7 separate regions of the Homo sapiens genome follow, and all the other regions are linked to region 4. The links are contacts of gene promoters, found by promoter capture Hi-C in blood cells and fetal thymus (Javierre and others, 2016). All regions are on one chromosome and are shown on one strand. Each heading gives the region's core, a stretch centred on a gene start or on the middle of the fragment in contact. The rest is flanking DNA. Distances are from core to core; before and after follow the strand shown. Region 1 overlaps ZNF527 (zinc finger protein 527). Region 2 has its middle 29 kb from the start of ZFP30. Region 3 overlaps ZNF875 (zinc finger protein 875). Region 4 holds the start of ZNF225 (zinc finger protein 225). Region 5 overlaps ZNF569 (zinc finger protein 569). Region 6 overlaps ZNF570 (zinc finger protein 570). Region 7 overlaps ZNF585A (zinc finger protein 585A).

Region 1 (2,972 bases), core at 102-2,601, 6.7 Mb after region 4:
GGTGAAACCCGGTCTCTACTAAAAATACAACAATTAACTGGGTGTGGTGGTACGCACCTGTAGTCCCAGCTACTTGGGAGGCTGATACAGGAGAATCGCTTGAACCCAGGAGGTGGAGATTGCAGTGAGCCAAGATTGCGCCACTGCACTCCAGCCTGGACAACAAGAGAAAAACTCTGTCTCAAAAAAAAAAAAAAAATCAGCTGGGTGTGGTAGCTCACACCTGTATAATCCCAGCACATTGGGAGGCCAAGAAGGGTGGATCACCTGAGGTCAGGAGTTTGAGATCAACCTGGCCAACATGGCGAAACCCTGTCTCTACTAAAATTACAAAAATTATCTGGGCATGATGGTGAGCACCTGTAATCCCAGCTACTCGGGAGGCTGAGGCAGGAAAATCCCTTGTACCTGGAAGGCAGAGGTTGCAGTGAGCCAAGATCGTGCCATTGCACTCCAGCCTGGGTGACAGAGCAAGGCTCCATCTCAAAAAAAAAGCATAAAAAATCAAGGAAACGCATTCTCCCATACAGTTTTAGGAAGGAATATAGGCTGCTGACATCTTGATTTTAGCTCTGTAAGGCCTACTTTTTACTTCTGACCTCCAGAGCTACAATAAATTTGTGTTGGATTAAGCCACTAAATGTGTGCTAATTTGTTACAGCAGGAAAAAAACTAAGCAGACAACTTTTCTGGAGGGGAATGTAGCAATTCCTTATAAAACTACGTATATACGGCCGGGCATGGTGGCTCATAACTGTAATCCCAGCACTTTGGGAGGCCAAGGCTGGCACGGATCACGAGGTCAAGAGATTGAGACCATCCTGGCCAACATGGTGAAACCCTGTCTCTACTAAAAATACAAAAATTAGCCAGGCGTGGTGGCATGCGCCTGTAGTCACAGCTACCCGGGAGGCTGAGGCAGGAGAATCACTTGAACCCGGGAGGCGGAGCTTGCAGTGAGCCGAGATTGCCCACTGCACTCCAGCCTGGTGACAGAGCGAGACTCCATCTCAAACAAAAACAGTAACAAATGGACCTGAAATAACCAACCTAAGTAATTTTGGAAATAGTATTTTGACTGGACACTATAAGACTAAAACAAAAAGTACTATATACAAATACCTAAATCTAGTTGGTAAATTTGTTTCTCACAGAGAAGTAAGTTAGAAATTCTGAAACTACTTTATGTGTATACTAAAATTGAACAAATAGGTAAATATATTTTTTCTCATTATCAGAAAAAGAAATTACAAATAAGTCAAGGAGGAAGGCTACAATAAACCCTGTAAAGCAGGACTAGAAATCAAGTTATTAATATAAACTGATAGTTTTAGTATATAAAAAGATAGAGGTAATAAAAAATGGGAAAAAAAGAGGCAGAAATAAATATAGGGGTGTGTGTGTAAATATCTATCTATCTATCTATCTATCTATCTATCTATCTATCTATCTACCTATCTATCTATCTGTTTCCTAGCTTTAGCTGCTGTCAGGGCCAGAAAGAGTGATATCCCAGTAGCCTAGAGCATACCTAGCTTGGTTTCTAAACACCATTTCCCAATAAAGCAATGAGGGCTCCTTGGAGAAGTGGTTGATTCAAGGCTGGGGCAAGGAAAATAAGAGAACCTGGAATACCTTGTGCCAGAAGGAAGGACGTGCCCAAAAAATGCATGGGGGCATGTCAGAAGGTCAAAGGAACCAATGTGAAGGAGATTCCAACATTCAAAGCTGGAACGATTTGAGAAACATAATGATTCATTGGATTTACTTCATAGAAATAAAAATCCATAAATCCAAAAATAAATCCATTTAAATTTTATGAAGTCATTAAATTTTATGAGGTAAATTAGATTTACCTCATAGGAAAAAAATCCATAAATATAATTGAATATATAAGTAAATGGAGGAGAAAGAGCAGCTCTTCCTTCAGAACAATCCCAATTAATATACACAAAGAAAAGAGGGAAATGGAACAAATCAACATTAGGTTAATACCACAGTAATAATAGTTGAAGAGATCCAGCAATAAATGCTAAAATAAATGGGCAAAAATTACAGAAGAAACTGAATAATCTCAAAGTATCTCCCCCAAGATATTTATTAACTACAAATAGAAAAATAAGAACTTTATAATGGAGAAACCAAGCAGACACTACCTTCACTAAGTGTGCAAAGTTAACATCACCGATAATAAGACATATCGATATTATACATCCTTTGGAATGATGCACTGAGAGAGATACAACATTATTTCTGTGACATTCTTTGCAAAAATGCACTACCTCAATCTAATTATGAGAAAATATCAGATAAATCAGATAGATCCAAATTGAGTGCATGCAAATATAATGAGCCATTTGTGTAGAGTGAAGCGTATCTGAGGATTCCAGGAGAGATTTCTCCAAGAAGATGAAGTGGATAGATCACCTAATATGTCCAAGTATCTTGAAAGACTCAGACAATTGATGGTAAGTCGGGAACTGGATTAGGGTTATGTATATATAAACTGAGCAAAAACAAACAAACAAACAAACAAAATTCCCAAGTCATTATTAACTCCAGGAAAAATAAAAAGGAGTAGAGAAAAAGTAACTTGCCATATGCACAGCACAGCTATGACTAGCACTAAATGGCCATAATAAAATAAATGCTGAATAGTGACTTAATCAAAATGATGACATTGATAAGATAGGGGATGGGAAATGTGTGTATTTGTGTGTGTGCCTTATGTGTTGGATTCAGGAGAAGAAAGTGCTAACTCCTTATTTTCTTATAAGAAGATACCGAATAAGGGCTCACCCTGAAAAAAAATCAAGAGTAGCAACATTAACATATTTTTGGAGACATGAAGGGAACACCAAAATAAACTACAAAAGAAAAGAAAGTGGATCGCTCTAGGAAGAGGGAAACTGGGGAGCCGGGAACAAGAATTCCTTCTTTAAGGGAAAAAGCCTTGTATAGGCTTTTTGGTG
Region 2 (2,849 bases), core at 94-2,593, 6.4 Mb after region 4:
CAATCTGTGCCTCCCAAATGGAAAGAACTAGAAACATTCTTCTCCATTCATGTGCTAGAATATTTAACACAAAGATGTGAAGTAACTTGCCCAAGCTGGTGCACAGCAGAACTGGAGTGCAAACCAGGCAGTCTGGCTTCACTTGAGCTCTTCTCCGGTGTGCTCTCTGTTTCTTCATTTGGTGACTTTCTAAAAATCCACTTATCAAGAGTCACATCACAGGCATCTATAAGCATAGCTGCATTTTATTTTATTTTATTTATTTTTTTGAGACAGGGTCTTGCTCTGTTACCCAGGCTAGAATGCAGTGGTACAATCACAGCTCACTGCAGCCTCGACCTCCTGTGTTCAAGTGATACTTCTACCTCAGCCTCCCGAGTAGCTAAGACTACAGGTGTGCACCACTGCACATGGCTAATTTTTGTATTTTTTTTGTAGAGACAGGGCCTCACTATGTTGCCCAGGCTGGTCTCGAACTCTTGGGCTCAAACGATCTGCCCCCCTTGGCCTCCCAAAGTTCTGGGATTATAGGCATGAGCCAACGCATCTGGCCTCTGAGCTGCATTTTAAATTATTGTGTTATATGCTCTTCTAAAATTATAGTTGTTTTTTTTTTTTTTGAGACGGAGTCTCACTCTGTCACCAGGCTGGAGTGTAATGGCGCGATCTCACTGCAACCTCCACCTCCCAGGCTGAAGCAATTCTCCTGCCTCAGCCTCCCGAGTAGCTGGGGCTACAGGCGCATGCCACCACACCCAGCTAATTTTTGTATTTGTAGTAGAGACAGGGTTTCACCATGTTGGCCAAGATGGTCTCAATCTCTATTTTTTTTTTCTTTTTTTTGAGATGGAGTCTCGCTCTGTTGCCCAGGCTGGAGTGCAGTGGTGCTATCTCAGCTCATTGCAACCTCCGCCTCCTGGGTTCACGCCATTCTCCTGCCTCAGCCTCCGGAGTGGCTGGGACTACAGGTGCCCGCCACCACACCCGGCTAATTTTTTTTTATTTTTAGTAGAGACGGGGTTTCACCGTGTTAGCCAGGATAGTCTCGATCTCCTGATCTCGTGATCCACCCGCCTCAGCCTCCCAAAATGCTGGGATTACAGGCATGAGCCACCACTCCCAGCCAAATTATAGGTTCTTTTAAAGACCTGCCCCCTTACGTAGTAATTCGTCACGTATATCTTTCCTTTTTACTTAAAATGTTTGGTCATAGCTGTTAATGGTAGTGCAGTCATCTGTCATGTAACTGTTCTGTGATATATTCTTGTGTTCACTAAATTTTGCACTTTTCTAGGTTTCGTTTATTGATAACTTCCCAAGTATAGAATTTTTAGGTAAAATATTAAGCATTTATTAATGCCAGGAATATCAATGATTCTGTGCTAATACTTGGGAGAAATGAAGTGATTAGAAAGCCCTAGTTAAGTTTCTCTCAATCTAGCAAGGGACATATAATCTATACAGAAATAGATTAAAGTGTGACAGGAACTAGCGAAACACAGATGCTTTTCCTTGTGGGCTCATGGGAAGGTGACATTCTGACCACAGTAACCTCTGCTGTTTTATGAGAAAACCATCTTGAATACATAGAAACTCTGGAGATAAAGAGATTTTGTGTCGTAAGCGTTATGCCATGTAATTTTTTTTTTTTTTGAGACTAAGTCTTTCTCTGTCGTCCAGGCTGGAGTACAGTGGTGCAATCTCGGCTCACTGCAACGTCCACTGGCTGGATTCAAGCAATTCCCCTAGCCTCAACCGCCCGAATAGCTGGGATTACAGGCACCCATCACCATGCCTGGCTAATTTTTTTTCTATTTTTAGTAGAGACAGGGTTTCACCATGTTGGCCAGGCTGGTCTTGAACTCCTAACCTCAGGTGATCCGCCCACCTTGGCCTCCCAAAGTGCTGGGATTACAGACGTGAGCCACTCCACCCGGCCTTATGCCATGTAATTTTTAAATAAAGTTTTTTTGTAAATAAAGTTTATTTTTGTAAATAAACTTTTAATGTTAGATATACAGTCAGACGTCACCTAAGAACAGGGATACATTCTTCTGTTGTTAGGTAATGTTGTTGTTAGGTGATGTCATCATTGTGTGAACATCAGAGGGTGGACTTACATACACCTAGATGGGATAGCCTACTACACACCCAGGCTATATAGTATAGCCTGCAGCTCCTAGGCCACCAGCCTGTATAGAATTTTACTGTACTGAATACTGTAGATAGTTGCAACACAATGATTTTATGTATCTAAATATATCTAAATACAGAAAAGGTACAGTAAAAATATGGTATAGGCCAGGCGCAGTGGCTCACGCCTGTAATCCCAACACTTTGGGAGGCCAAGGCAGGTGGATCATGAGGTCAGGAGTTCGAGACCAGCCTGGCCAACGTGGCGAAACCCCGTCTCTACTAAAAATACAAAAATTAGCTGGGTGTGGTGGCAGGTGCCTGTAATCCCAGCTACTCGGGAGGCTGAGGCAGGAGAATCGCTTGAACCTGGGTGGCGGAGGTTGCAGTGAGCCAAGATTGTACCATTGCACTCCAGACTGGGTGACAAGAGCAAGACTCCATCTCAAAAAAAAAAAAAAAAAAAGGTATAAAAAGTAAACAATGGTACACCTGTACAGGGCATTTACCATGAATGGAGCTTGCAGGACTGAAAGTTGCTCTAGGTGAGTCAGTAAGTGAATGGTGAGTGAATGTGAAGGCTAGGACAGTACCATACCCCACTATAGACTAGAAACACTGTATACTTAGGCTACACTAAATATGTGAAAATTTTTTTCTTCAATAATAAATTAACTTTAGCTTACTGTAACTTTTTTTACTTTATGAACTTCTTG
Region 3 (2,700 bases), core at 46-2,545, 6.7 Mb after region 4:
TTCTAACTCTACTCACTCACTTAGATGTTGAACAAAAATTAAGATCCTAACATCTCTTACCATTTTGGACAGTGATGCCCTAACTGTAACTCCTTTGGATAAACAAATAAATCTACATTTATTTTTTCCCTAAATTGATAGCCAACAACACAAACACTGAATCTTACGATTGCCATTTTCACGCTGATTTGAAATCCTGCTTTATCGCATTCAAAATGCTCATATATGGATGGGTTTGTTTTTCTGTTTTTTAAAATATGGTTCTAAAGAGCTATTCTAAAAACTTATATATGAACAAGACATGTTACTATATAGTTTCTATATTTTCCTAATGATTCTTGGAAATTTTATTTTCCAAATAAAATTCAGAATCATTCAGTCTAGTTCCATGAAAAAAAACAAAAAACAAACAAACTGGGACCTAACCTAGTATTTAAAGTTAATTTGTTGAACACTGCCATTAAAAAATATATGTTCCCAACCAGAAGAATGGTACATTTTACAATGGTTGGAAATATTTAAACTCAAGAATTACCTGTAGGATGTTGTTTGGTAATTCAAAGGAGAATAGAAATTAATTTCATTTTCTATTTCTGCATATTGTGTGTTTTATAAATAAAACAACAATACACTTCTAGTCTAAATACATCAGTCAATAAAAATATCTTCAATGTGGATTCAACCCAGAAACCAGACAAAACCCCAAAAGGCTTAAGCAAAGTTATTTTTAAAAATGGACCTCTTCCTAAAACCTAGAGCTAGGATACTTGCAGTCACCTAGATATAATAAAACCCTCTTCTACCCATGGACTATCCCTGTCTCCATGAATTAACCATTCCCCAAACTCTCCCCTGAGGCTGACTCTGTGGGGTCATGGTCTGGGGAACACATAGTAAATCAGCCACGGTGTCTTCCAAGTCTCTTGTTCCCAGTTAGGACAGATGGACATCAAAAGACAAGCTCTAGTATTGTTGTCTTGAGGCAGAAATTAGAGAAAGAAGAAAATAAAATTTAAAAAGAGAAAAATAAGCTTTCCATACTAGGCTGACTCATCCTAAAGGCGGTAGCAGGCAAAGCCTGGACCCAGGCGAGGTCTCGATAACATTATCAAAGAAGCAAAGGCTTGAAGGAATGTGCTCTGGAGACTCTCCCAGCACTCCCTCAACATAAGGATAAGAAAAAGTAAAGATCCCCCTCGAATCCCACCTCCCTCCGTGTGATTGTACCTTGCTCTGCAAGTTTTATGAGGTTATAGATTCCTGTTTTCTGTAACTAGTTAACTTCAAGTATTCTGTTTTATCTAAGCAGCACAGTGAAAGTTTTAAGACATGCCTGAGGCAGGCCTGGGCTGCAGCCATCTGGGCACCATAGCAAAGGTTATGAGATAAGCCCATGCAAGGCTCTTTTGAGCAAGCCTAGATAACAGCCATCTGGGCTGCATAAGCAAGGGTCATATGTAATCCTGAGTTATACACCTGTCACAATTTGATTAACTGCCTTTGCTCTGCCTCTGTATCCTGGCTTTTGCACCACTACGTTTTGCACCACTGTAAGCTTGTTTCAAGTTAGCCCACCCACTTTGAGAAGTGTGTATAAAAGTCAAATGCTGTCTTTGTTCTGGGCCCAGTTTTTGGATGTTAATCCTCTGGGTCTGAGTGCACTCAATAAATCCTCCTGTCGGCTGGGCGCGGTGGCTCATGCCTGTAATCCCAGCACTTTGGGAGGCTGAGGCGGGCGGATCATGAGGTCAGGAGATCGAGACCATCCTGGCTAACACAGTGAAACCCCATCTCTACTAAAAATACAAAAAATTAGCCGGGTGAGGTGGCAGGCACTTGTAGTCCCAGCTCCTCGGGAGGCTGAGGCAGAAGAATGGCGTGAACCTGGGGGGCGGAGCCTGCAGTGAGCCGAGATCGCGCCACTGCACTCCAGCCTGGGTGACAGAGCGAGACTCTGTCTCAAAAAAATAAATAAATAAATCCTCCTGTCTCACCCCATGGTCTCTCTGGTCCTCCTTCATTCCCGCAATAGTTTCTGTAACATCCAGGGTACAGTGGAAGGAATGTTCCAGTGTACCTGTAAAATGACACTGGAATAGTATTCATTTCCTAATTTCAACCCATTTAAAAGTACTTTCTCCGTCAAGTTACTGACACAGGAATTTTCTCAGCCACATTGCCAACTGAGGACCTCCACAGCCAGCGACAGCCCTCTGCCTGGATCTCACTTAGCCCTGGGCCTGCTGCTGGAGGTGCCCTGCCCTCTTGGCCTGCCTGTATTATAGCTTATACCCATGTTTAGTGGTTCTGAGCGCTTGTCCTGAGTCCAAAAAGAATGAGGATACACTGACAATTGAAGGGTGAGGATGGGTAGAAAAGAATTTTATTGAGCAAAAGAACAGCTCTCAGTGGAGAGGGGATGCAGGGAGTGGTCCCCAACCCCCACAGCAGGGTGATTTCTCTCCTCACTGCAGCTGAGTCTGGGTCTTTTATGGGCTCAGAATAGGGGAATACACGTTGACTGATTTGTAAGTATGCAAAGGCACCACTCAAAAGGTGGGCACAGCAGTGTAAAAACCAATTAGGAAAGGGCAGGTATACGTAAAATAGGTGAAGGGTTGGGATCAATCGGAGGAAAGCACACCAAATGGGAAGACAGGTTCTCAATTCAGTATGAGGATTTAGCCGGGACTGTCTTCA
Region 4 (2,879 bases), core at 289-2,788:
AATAATTTTACAATGCGGAAATCTGACAAACATGACTTTAGCCAAGTGAACAAAGTTGAGATCACCAATGAAGTGACAAACTGACATATGGCCCCTGTTATGTTGCAATAAGAAATTTACCACTTCAGGCTGGGCACGGTGGCTCATGCCTGTAATCCCACACTTTGGGAGGCCAAGGCGGTTGAATCACCTGAGGTCAGGAGTCTGAGACCAGCCTGGCCAACATGGTGAAATCCCTTCTCTACTAAAAATACAAAAATTAGCCGGATGTGGTGGCAGGCACCTGTAATCCCAGCTACTTGGGAGGCTGAGGCAGGAGAATAGCTTGAACCCAGGAGGTGGATGTTGCAATGAGCTGAGATCGTGCCATGCACTACAGCCTGGGCGACAAGAGCGAAACTCCGTCTCAAGAAAAAAAAAGAGAGAGAGAGATTTACCACTTCTGTGGTATTCCAGCAAAAAATGCATATTTTGAAGTTAAACGTGAAATACATCAGAAAAACTCCAAATGAACATCTTTGACCAAAATAACTTCATCTATACTCTTCAAAAATAACAAGGATAAAATACCAAGAAAAAACGATGAAAGCTATGCTATCTTTCAAGATTAAAGACTAGAAAAACATGACAACTGAAAGCAACACCCATGCCCGAAGACACATCCTATACACTCTCGGTTGGGGTGAGCATCTCTGTCAAAGAAAAAAGCCAAGGATCACTCACGTAGAGCTTTGCCCTCAGAAGCCAAGAAGTCCCTCCCTGCAGCTCTTTTGGAAAGGTCGGGCTGGGTAAGGAGAAGGCTGTGAAACACTCTGACCGTGGTCGCCGTGCCCCATAAAAGTTAAATGCTCCTCTCCCCTCCTGGAAGTGGATGCAACCCTCGCCTTCCTAAAAGAGAGGTCAGAAGGCGTCCGGGATCACCCAGCGTCTTGCAGGAATCAGGGAGAAGGGCCGGTGCCCCTGCAGCTGGAGTTTCACCCCACCCGGGGACCTGACAGGCTTCGTGGGAAATTAACAAGAGACCACCAGTCACCAAGTGACAGGGGCTGCTTTAAGGCTCTCATTTGTGTTACCGCTTTCAGTTCCCAAAACGATTCTATTAGGATGGTCCTAAACTCCCCATCTTAAAGAACTGTAACGGGAGACCCAAGGAGATTAAGTAACATCCCAGCGTTTTATCGCGAGGAAGTGGCCACGCGCGTGGGGTGCAGGGAGGCCGAGTGGGCGAGCTCAGAGCCCCGGAGACCCTAAAACCAGGCGAGACGCGACCCGACCAAGTCCCAAACACCCCGGGGACGCGAGGAGAGCCCCAAGCCCAAGAAGGCTCCACTGACGAGAACGAAAACAGCGGCCCCGCTCCGCCAAACCTCTGCTCTCCGACGAGGTTTCTTTTCCCCTAATTCGATCACCAGTTCGTTAAGGATCCAATGCGTAGGTCCAGGAAATTCAGAAGGGTCTCGCGGAACTGACCCAAACTACCAGGGACAAAACTGCAGCAACCTCACAGTAACGGAGCGGAAGTGGCCCGCTACTCCACTGAGTGTCTGGACTCCACTTCCCAGAATTCCTGAGACAAACTGACCGCGACGACCCCGAGCGTCTGGACTACACTTCCCAGAATTCCCTGGGATCCACCTGCCGGAGTCAAATTGACCGAGACTCCACTGAGCGTCTGGACTACATTTCCCAGAAATCCCCTGATTCGCCTGCCGGAGCCAAGCTGACCGCTACTCCACTGAGCGTCTGGACTACCATTCCCAGAATTGCTTGTATCCTCCTTCTGGAGCCAGTGTGTACGACTCCACAGAGCATTTGGATTACACTCCTCCGAATGCTGAAGGAAAAACGCTCAAAATCTCATTCTTCAGGGGGAAGCGTTGCCACTCCGAGGTGCCCACTGGGAACGAATCCCAAAGCCACGAGCGCCTGCCTAGTGGGGAATGTGAACTGTTATCCTGAGAGTCGTCCTTCTCTCTCCCTGGTCCAGGACAGAAAATACTGAATAGACAGGAATTTCTGAAGTCTAAACGCCTCCAATGATAACAGGAGTGTTATTGGAAAGGGAACAAGCGAGAAGACACAGTCTTCGAGGAGTTAAGTTTTGCTAATCTAATGGTAAGAAATGGTTTCTAAATGTAGTTTTAATTTGTATTTGTTCTTTTGTAAATAAAGTGGAACATCCGTGCATATTTTCCGTTGCCACTATTATAGTCTTTGTGAATTGGTCAAATAGTTTGCCCACATTTCTATTGAGTGTTTAGTTTTTTCCCCTCCGTTAAGTATTATTTACATACTCATATTAACATTGTATCAAATATTGCTCAACCAAAAAGCTTTTTTCCTTTGACTTGTTTTTCGCTATGCAAAACGTTTTTAACGTGGTCGTTTTATTATTTAAAAAATATTTTTGAGGTGTAATTCACAAAACAAAATTATTTTAAGGCACATAATTCAATGGCAATGGCATCTAGTACGAATACAGTGTTGTTAATATATACGAGTTAAGAAGCCATCACTTAGGCAGATAGGGTATGGGAGCCCTCGGTAAGGCTTTTCTTTTTAATGAAAAGCAGCCCCAAATTATTTCCCTTCCTAAGGAAGAGCAGCCTGTAAAATCCAGCTGCCGCAGACATAGATACCAGCAGTTGTGCCAATCATGTTAAAGATGGCGGCTCCATCTTCCCTTCTCTTTGTCAGCCACGTGCACAGTAAGAAGCTGGCAAGATGGGCCAATCAACTGGGAAGCCTATTTGCATAAGAAGATTAGGGTGGGGCGACCAGCCTTCCCCACGCACTATGTAAACGTCATAACTGATCGAACCAATCTATGACCCCTATGTAAATCAGACACTGCCTCCTCAAACTGGTCTGTAAAACTC
Region 5 (2,855 bases), core at 164-2,663, 6.7 Mb after region 4:
AATATTAGAGGAAGTAAGGTGAGACATAGAAGGATGGGCTGGGCATGGTGGCTCATGCCTGTAATCCCAGCACTTTGGGAGGCCATAGTGGGCACATTGCGAGATCAAGAGATCAAGACCATCCTGACCAACATGGTGAAACCCTGTCTCTACTAAAAATACAAAAATTCGCTGGGCATGATGGCGCACACCTGTAGTCCCAGCTACTCTGGAGCCTGAGGCAGGAGAATCGCTTGAACCCAGGAGGCGGAAGTTGCAGTGAGCCAAGATCACGCCATTGTACTCCAGCCTGACAGAGTGAGACTCTGTCAAAAAAAAAAAAAAAAAGAGGATATTTTTCATATGTTTTAAAAATAGAACAGTTCTTCTTACCACTATACCGGTTTTAGAAAACATGGATGATTACTAACTAGACCCATTATTTCAGTAAGGGCTACAAAATGGCGATATTCTAATTCTGTCATTACTTCGTTTACTAGCTAGAATATTTTCCTAAAGAAAAAATTTTCCTCGTCAACTCTTTGTTCACCCTTAGGTACAGTTTGTACAGAAAAGGCAGAATAAATGGATTATTTCCCTTTATATGATTTTGAGTTATTGGAGTGGTTCCCTGGCATCTCCTAGTGGGTTGTTTTTATTATTATCACCATTATATATTCATCATTTTTAGCATATTTGATGTGTTTTAAATCACTGCACTTATTTTCTTTTTGAAGCTCAAATTTTTTTGTTAAGTGTTTGCTTGGGTGCAACCTTTGACTATCTCCCAGAATTTCTGAAAATCTGGTTCAGACAGGTTTTGCCTTTTGTTTGTTTTTTTCATTTCTAGGGAAGGATAGGCCACCAGTCTCATCCCTTGACTTTTTTTTTTTTTTGAGACAGGGTATCACTGTATTGCCCAGGCTAGAGTGCAGTGACTATTCACAGATGCAGTCATGGCACACTGCAGCTTTGAACTCCTATGTTCAAGCAAACTTCTGCCTCAGCCCCTGCAAATAGCTTGGACTACAGGTGCACGCTACCACGCCTAGCTTCATCTCTTTACTTGTAACTTGAATGTTAAAGTGGGTTTCTTATAGACATATATAGTTGTTTTTTTTTTTTTAAATGCACTCTGACAATCTGTCTTCTAATTGCTGTGTTTGGACCATTTACACTTGGTGTGATTATTTTTGTAGTTGGATTAACATCTACCATTGGCCAGGCGTGGTGGCTCATGCGTGTAATCCCAGCACTTTGGGAGGCCAAGGCAGGCGAATCACCTGAGGTCAGGAGTTTAGGACCAACCTGGCCAACATGGTGAAACCCTGTCTCTACTAAAAATACAAAAATTAGCCAGGCATAGTGGTGCATGCCTGTAATCCCAGTTGAGGCTGAGGCAGGAGAATTGCTTGAACCCAGGAGACAGAGATTGCAGTCAGCCAAGATCGTTCCACTGCACTCCAGCCTGGGCTGGAGTCTCCAGTGAAACTCTGTCTCAAAAACAAACAAACAAACAAAAAAACACTACCATCTTCCTAGCTCACTACCATCTTCCTAGCTGTTTTCCATTTGCTTCGTATGCAAATAGAAAATTTTTTTATTTCTTTGTTTTGTTTCTTCTCTTCTCCCCTCCTTTGTCTGATTACTACGGTTTTCATTGAGCATTTTATATTATTTCATTTTATCTCCTGTTTACTTTATCATTTATACTTCTTTTAAAAAATTTTAGTGTCACCCTAGAGTTTTCAATGTGTATTTTTAAGTAATCTAAATTCACTTTTGAAAATGCTATACTGCTTCATATGTAGTGCAGGAACTTTACAACAGTATTCCCAGTTCCCCCTTCTTCTCCGTTGTTATGTCACTTGTGATGTCCCTGTCATTCATTTCACTTATCCGTGTGCTGTAATCACCTAATACATTGTTATCATTATAGCCTTTAACAAACATTTATCTTTTAGATCAATTACTAATAAAAGAACCAAAAGATTTTATCTTACCTTCATGATTTTGTCTCTGGTGCTCTTCCTTTCTTTATGTAAATCCATGTTTCTGACCTATATTGTTTTTCTTCTGCCTAAATAACTTTTTAACATTTCTTACAGGGTAGGTCTGCTGGTGATGAATTCCCTTAGTTTTTGTTAGAAATGAAAGTCTTCATTTCTCCTTCAACTTTGAAGGATAATTTCCCTGGATAGAGAGAATTCTAGGTTGGTGGCTCTTTTTCATTTAATGCTTTAGATATTTCACACCACTTTCTTCTTGTTTATATAGTTTCTGACAAGAAGTCTGCTGTAATTTTTATCAGTGTTGTTTTATAGGTAAGGTGTTACTTTTCTCTGGGTTCCTTGACTATCTTTTCTTTGTTTTTTTTTGTTGTTGTTTTTTCAGTTTCAATATGATATACACGTGTGGTTTTTTTTGGTATTTATCTTGCTTAGTGTTCTTTGCGCTTCCTCAGCCTATGGTTTGGTGTGTGTCACTAATTTGAAACATTCATGGACATTATTACTTACAATATTTCATCTGTGTTCTCTTTTTTCTCCTTTTGGTTTTCTAATTGGGAAAATAGATGTCTGTTTAATAGATACATGTTTTGATATTGTCCCATGGTTTGGATGTTCTCCCATGGTTTGGATGTTCTCTTTTGTTTTTCATTCTTTTTCCTCTGTGCATTTTAGTTTGGGAAGTTTCTTTTGAAGTTTCTATTTTCAGGTTCACTGATTGTTTCCTCTACTGTGTTGAGTTTGTTGATGAGTCCATTGAAGGCATTCTTTGTTTTTATTAATATGTTTTTGATTTCTAGCATTTCTTTTGATTCTTTCTTATAGTTCGCATTTCCCTGCTTACAGTACCCATCTCTTTTTCTAACT
Region 6 (2,722 bases), core at 15-2,514, 6.6 Mb after region 4:
TGTTTACAATTTAATCTAACAGAAGATGTGCAAAGCCTTTTTTGGAGAAAATTATAAAACACTGAAAAAAGTGAAAAAACCTAAATAAATGGAGAGCTATACCATGTTAATGAATTTTTAAAATTTCCAGAATTGATTACAGAATAAATAAAATTTGAATCAAAAGTTAAAATTTGAATCAAAAGTTAACAGCATTTTGTTGTTTTCTGATAGAAATTTACAAGTTGACCCTAAACTTTATATTGATGTCCAAAGGGCAAACAAGAAATTCTAAAGAATTTAAACAAGCTGTAGAGATTTTCCCTAGCAGATAATTATCCTTCTAATAAACTATTTTTATTAAGACAGTGTGGTACTGGTATAAGGAAACAGAGATCAATGAAACTGAATAAAGCTTAAAGTCAAACCCATATATAGACTAAAACCTGGTATATTAAGAGGTAACATTCAGAAAAACAGGCAGAGGGAACACTTATTCAAAAAATATCTGGGACCTTTGGTTTTCCATAAGATACAGAAATTAAATTCTTATTTAAAATAATCCTCAAAAATAAGTTCCAATTGGATTATGGACCTACATATAAAAGGACAATCTTTAAAAGACTATTTTCAGATATCTATATGAACTCAGAACATAGAAAGGTTTCTTAAAGTATCAAAAACATAAGCTACAGGCTGGGTGCAGTGGCTCACGTCTGTAATCCCAGCACTTTGGAAGGCTGAGGCTGGCGGATCACCTGAGATCAGGAGTTGGAGACCAGCGTGGCCAACATGGTGAAACCTCGTCTCTACTAAAAATACAAAAAAATTAGCCAGGCGTGGTGGTGGGTGCCTGTAGTTCCAGTTACTGGGGAGGCTGAGGCAGGAGAATCACTTGAACCCAGGAGGCAGAGGTTGCAGTGAGCCGAGATCATGCCACTGTACTCCAGCCTGGGCAACAGAGCGAGACTCTGTCTCAAAAAAAAAAAAAAAAGTTACAAATACACACACACACACACACACACACACACACACACACACACACACGACAACCTCCCCCACAATGAGCACCTTAGGAAAAATCACACATGCAACCTGTTTTTCCTTTTCTCTCGCACCACAACAATAAACACAGAAGGCTTCTGTGACTGAATGTGGGGGTTTCTCTCCACCAACAAGCAAGCAATGAATTCTGCAGTGGGTGTCCTCTACCTCAGCTCTATTTTGATACTGTCTACCTGGAGATAGCATCAGATCCCTCAGGTTGAGGACTCAGTCCCCAAGGCTGCCTACACTTCTGATGCTCTGTAGAGCTCAAAAATTTATAAGAGGCCAGGCACAGTGGTTCATGCCTGTAATGCCAGCACTTTGGAAGGCTGAGGCAGGCAGATCACGTGAGGTCAGGAGTTTGAGACCAGCCTAACATGGAGAAACCCTGTCTCTACTAAAAATACAAAAATTAGCTGGGCGTGGTGGCATGTGCCTGTAATTCCAGCTCCTGGGAAGGCTGAATCAGGAGAATTGCTTGAACCCGGGAGGCGGAGCTTGCAGTGAGCCGAGACTGCACCACTGCACTCCAGCCTGGGTGACAGAGCGAGACTCTGTCACAAAAAAAAAAAAAAAAAAAAAAGTTTATAAGACTACTACAAGATTTTTTAAAGACTGAGAGGCTTATGAAACTGAGAGGGGATGGGACTTGTTAGAAAGGAGATAGGAAAGTAAGAGAAGGGAAATAATTAAAAATAACAAATGTGGGAGAACATCCTAAATGGCCCCAAATTTTTATGAAAACCTAGAACATTTGAGAAGAATTTGGAAGCCTGAAGAGTGAAGAGGTGATACCTTTGAGTCAAGCTGAGCTGTCACGTGCAAAGATTTTTGCCAATTTCCTCTTCACTAACCTGAGCACAAGCCTTTTGTCAGCTCTCTCTTCACCATCCAGGGTGCTTTTCCTTGTTCCAACAATAATATCACACTTGGTTTGGAAAAGCAAAGTCCTGCAAATACGAAAAAAAAAAGTAGAGTTTTGTCATGCTGTGGATATTCCAGAACTCACATTCAATCCTTAGCTCATCAGGGAAAAGGGAGTTTACAGTAAGCAAAAAGAGAAATGTGTAAAGGACATGTATTAGAAGGATAAGGAAGATGAAGCTTCAGGCACAGGCCAAGAATATGTTCACTGCCAAATCCACAAACACTAAGCCATTTGTTTGGCATAGGCAGCAGACATTCAGCCAAATTTTGCAGATATTATCCAAAAATTCACAATAGTGGTAGCAAAGAGCCCCTTTTGAGCAGAAGCTCAGTTTTGCAAGAAGATATCCTTACCCAGTGATACCAAGATCCTGTAGTTCTCTAGCATCACATTACTGTACAGATGTCTTTGAGAAGAATCCAGACAATCCCATTCCTCTTGGGAGAAGTCTACAGCCACATCTCTGAAGGTCACCAACTCCTGAAATGAAATAAATGGAAGAACCTTATCTCTTACCATATTCACCTCATTTCCTCTGCCCTAGGCACACTGGGCTCTCTCTGATATTACATCCTCAAATATGTAACCATGTTATCATATTTGTACTCAGGGCCTTTGTATATCTCAGATTATTCCAGTATAAAATAGCACTGCTTCCACCCCAATTCCCTATTTCCTAACCCTCCTTTATTTTTCTCCACTGCACTTAATTATTTTATTCATTGCCTGTTCTTCACCCTCCTCAACTAAAATTTAAGCTCCATGAGG
Region 7 (2,988 bases), core at 258-2,757, 6.9 Mb after region 4:
TGATCAGTCCTGCTGGCATTTGCCTACTGAATAGTGTGTGATGGAGATCTAGTTTGTTTTTTTCCAGGTGGCCAGCCAGTTATATCACTGCATTATATCACTGCCATTTATGCAATGAATGTCTTATGCACACTCATTTGAATACCACTTTTATCACATATATAGATCAATATTGTCTGGTATATTTATTGTTTTACTTGTTTTTATTACATTGTTTTTATATTGTTTTAATATCTGATAATGCATGGTAATCGCTGATATGTATTGTATGATTTTTGTGTGCCTGGGAGGTGTTGAGTACTTTACAAGTATTATCTCATTTAATTTTTGTAACTTTGAGATAAGCATTTTCATCCTCATTTCTGAAATTAAAAGTGAAGAAATGGCTGGGCGCAGTGGCTCACGCCTGTAATCCCAGCACTTTGGGAGGCAGAGGCGAGCGGATCAGGAGGTCAGGAGATCCAGACCATCCTGGCCAACATGGTGAAACCTCGTCTTTACCAAAAATTAGCTGGACATGGTGGCGCATGCCTGTAATCCCAGCTACTTGGGAGGCTGAGGCAGGAGAATTGCTTGAACCTGGGAGGCAGAGCTTGCAGTGAGCCGAGATCGCACCACTGCACTCCAGCCTGGCGACAGAGCGAGACTCCGTCTCAAAAGAAAGTGAAGAAACTTCTGTTCTCATAGGTGAAAAGTGTCAGAGCTGCAGTTCAAATCTGCAGTAACATTACTCCATCTCTCATGACTTTTCCCATATTTCACCGTAACTAATACCTATCACAGATTTTGTTAAATTTTATGTTCTCCTCAGCGCTGGTTCTCAAAGTGTGGTCCCTGTACTGACAGCATCAGCGTTTCCTGGGCACCAGTTAGAAACGAAACTTTTTGGGTTCTACTTTAGACCTACTGAATCAGAAACTGTGGAGTAGGCTGAGAATTTTTAACTGTGTTTCATTTAACAGGTCCTCCAGGTAACTTGAATGCATACCCATTTGAGAACCACTGCTTTGGTTTCTAGCTCAGGGACCTGCACCTTGATATATCCAGGAAGTGCTTATGTGTTGAATGTGAAATGACTGACTATGGGAACATTGTCTTTCCAGGTTTCTGGGTGTCTCTGGGGAGCCCCTGGGCCAGATTTTCCTCTAGACTCCAGCCCATCTCTTCAGAGCAGCTCTGCTTGAGTTCACAGATGACTGCCAAGCTTCAGACACCCTACAGAAAAAGGGTTGAGACCCAGTGTGGCCATGCCAGCTAATTGGACCTCACCTCAGAAATCCTCAGCCCTGGCTCCAGAGGATCATGGCAGCTCCTATGAGGTGAGAAGGAGGAGTCCCAGGGGGGTGGGAATTCAATCCAGGACTAGGTATCTCTGGTCTGTCACTAGAACCTCATGACTGAGGGAGGGAGCTGGGCCACAGGAAGCAGCTGGACTCTAGACCTGCTGCTCCTGAAACAAATCTTGATCTTCCTGTTGAGAATGAGCAACATGTGGGTAATGTCTTCGTCTCTGGAGGCCATCTGTGCGACAGTGGAGAGGTGGACTATTAAGAAAAACTGTTGTTTATTTTGTCATCACACTACATTGATCTTTGGGCTGTGGATAGATTTTCCTGGTTAGAAGTCACTTTTCTGTGGGATTTTCAAAGTATTTCTCTTGTTTCTTCCTAAACTGCCTCCTCAAACACAAATATTTTCTTTCTTTCTTTTTTTTTTTTTTTTACATTTCTGTTTTTCGGATATTGGTTCTCCATTTTTTTCCCTCTACTGTTTTCTATTTCTTTGCTGCTCTCTTTTTCAGGAAGCTTTGTCACATTTGCCTTCCAGCCCTTCTTTTGAGTTTCTCGTTACCACTATCAACATTTTAATTCAACGTTTTAATTTTTAATAACTGTAATTTATTTTCTAAATATTCTTTTTGATTAGCATCTTGTTCTTATTTCATGGGTATAATTTTATTTCTTATGCCTCTGGAGATATTGTGATAGTGTATTAGGAAAGTTTAGTTTTCTGAATAGGGAATATATACACTTCGTTCAAAAATAATATTGGTAAAATGGGAATAATAGTAAAAAATAAAAATTAAAAACAATTAGAAATGCATTTAAAGGCAACACACCCTGAAAAGTGTTATAGGAAACAAATTCAGGGGAAACATGGATCTGTGATTCACCCACCTCCGTTCCCCACCTACCCCCATGTTTCTCAACATACAGGACCGATTTTATTCTTTTTCTTTGATTGCTTAGTTCTATAAACAAGTAAAAACAAGTACACATTTTTTTCTTTCTATTTCACAAAAGGTGCCATAGTAGACTAAATTTTCACACATTGCTTTTTAAATATTTGTTTGGTAAAATACAGCTCATATTATGAACTATGTAGCAGTAGGCATTCTTCTCATGTCTTTCCTTTCTGTTGCATGTGTAAGTTGTAGTAGAATTTCATTTCTGGTTTTAGTCACAGGTAATAAGAATCTTCTAGCTGAATTTCACTGAACCTCTACTTCTGTTCCTATTGGGAAATTTTATGATTGGGTATCTTAATCATTTTTACCTAGAAAATATGAAGGGTAGATTGAAGCAAAAGCTATAATTGGTAAAGGTATAATTGGCAGTCACTTTCCTTATGCAGAGTAAGGAGATTTTTATGGTTTGAAGAAGATTGTGATTTTTGTCTGTGCTCAAGTATAATGACAGAGTGGTCTTGGTTTTGTCTTCCACCATGGTGGTCAGAGATTGGTCTTGTTTGCTGTTGGTGTTCCAAGAGATTATTTTTGTGTAGCGCCATGGAGAACACCATGAGTTAGCTGGCCCCTGCCAGGCTAGCTTCTAGCAAAACTGAGGTTTAACTGATAGTACCAGGCTAACTCTCAGCGGTCAGGGGCTGCTTTTATCCTCATTTAAAAATAAAGGAATGAACCAAAAGAAAGCTAGGGATGCAATTTAGGAACAGGTCAAAAGGAATTTAAGGTGAAAATCACTTAAA

What was found. Contacts are between HindIII fragments. The CHiCAGO score rates a contact against its expected background, and 5 or more counts as called.
Region 1: a contact is called between a fragment that was not itself captured here and the fragment with the promoter of ZNF225 in region 4, in 4 of 17 cell types (non-activated CD4 T cells, total CD4 T cells, activated CD4 T cells and 1 more). The highest score is 11.7, in non-activated CD4 T cells.
Region 2: a fragment that was not itself captured here is called in contact with the fragment with the promoter of ZNF225 in region 4 in 1 of 17 cell types (activated CD4 T cells); the score reaches 8.0 in activated CD4 T cells.
Region 3: a fragment that was not itself captured here is called in contact with the fragment with the promoter of ZNF225 in region 4 in 3 of 17 cell types (non-activated CD4 T cells, naive CD8 T cells and activated CD4 T cells); the score reaches 5.7 in non-activated CD4 T cells.
Region 5: a fragment that was not itself captured here is called in contact with the fragment with the promoter of ZNF225 in region 4 in 2 of 17 cell types (naive CD8 T cells and non-activated CD4 T cells); the score reaches 8.9 in naive CD8 T cells.
Region 6: a fragment that was not itself captured here is called in contact with the fragment with the promoter of ZNF225 in region 4 in 7 of 17 cell types (non-activated CD4 T cells, naive CD8 T cells, activated CD4 T cells and 4 more); the score reaches 25.3 in non-activated CD4 T cells.
Region 7: a contact is called between a fragment that was not itself captured here and the fragment with the promoter of ZNF225 in region 4, in 5 of 17 cell types (naive CD8 T cells, total CD8 T cells, total CD4 T cells and 2 more). The highest score is 9.0, in naive CD8 T cells.

Annotation. Positions count from the first base shown.
Region 1 is chr19:37,380,767-37,383,738 of GRCh38, reverse strand. All of the region lies in intron 4 of ZNF527 (zinc finger protein 527), which reads right to left. Among named protein-coding and RNA genes, the nearest start is that of ZNF527, 11 kb to the right of the region's middle. The HindIII fragment of the contact is 4,583 bases long and covers 1-2,972 here.
Region 2 is chr19:37,682,955-37,685,803 of GRCh38, reverse strand. It overlaps the pseudogene ZNF781. Among named protein-coding and RNA genes, the nearest start is that of ZFP30, 29 kb to the right of the region's middle. The HindIII fragment of the contact is 8,365 bases long and covers 1-2,849 here.
Region 3 is chr19:37,364,109-37,366,808 of GRCh38, reverse strand. ZNF875 (zinc finger protein 875) reads right to left here. Exons shown (of 5, transcript NM_001353803.2): 5 at 2,362-2,700. Among named protein-coding and RNA genes, the nearest start is that of ZNF527, 5.6 kb to the left of the region's middle. RefSeq lists a silencer at 1,175-1,375. The HindIII fragment of the contact is 524 bases long and covers 1,034-1,557 here.
Region 4 is chr19:44,112,058-44,114,936 of GRCh38, reverse strand. It overlaps ZNF225 (zinc finger protein 225), which reads right to left and starts at 1,538. Exons shown (of 5, transcript NM_013362.4): 1 at 1,368-1,538. ZNF225-AS1 (ZNF225 and ZNF224 antisense RNA 1) reads left to right here and starts at 1,754. Exons shown (of 2, transcript NR_033341.1): 1 at 1,754-2,115. RefSeq lists an enhancer at 1,085-1,784 and a silencer at 1,477-1,827. The HindIII fragment of the contact is 4,811 bases long and covers 1-2,335 here.
Region 5 is chr19:37,458,786-37,461,640 of GRCh38, reverse strand. All of the region lies in intron 2 of ZNF569 (zinc finger protein 569), which reads left to right. Among named protein-coding and RNA genes, the nearest start is that of ZNF569, 7.2 kb to the left of the region's middle. The HindIII fragment of the contact is 7,320 bases long and covers 1-2,855 here.
Region 6 is chr19:37,475,593-37,478,314 of GRCh38, reverse strand. ZNF570 (zinc finger protein 570) reads right to left here. Exons shown (of 5, transcript NM_144694.5): 3 at 2,308-2,434; 4 at 1,881-1,976. Among named protein-coding and RNA genes, the nearest start is that of ZNF570, 7.6 kb to the right of the region's middle. The HindIII fragment of the contact is 1,736 bases long and covers 397-2,132 here.
Region 7 is chr19:37,168,170-37,171,157 of GRCh38, reverse strand. ZNF585A (zinc finger protein 585A) reads left to right here. Exons shown (of 5, transcript NM_001288800.2): 2 at 1,104-1,319. The coding sequence starts at 1,248. Among named protein-coding and RNA genes, the nearest start is that of ZNF585A, 3.0 kb to the left of the region's middle. The HindIII fragment of the contact is 601 bases long and covers 1,207-1,807 here.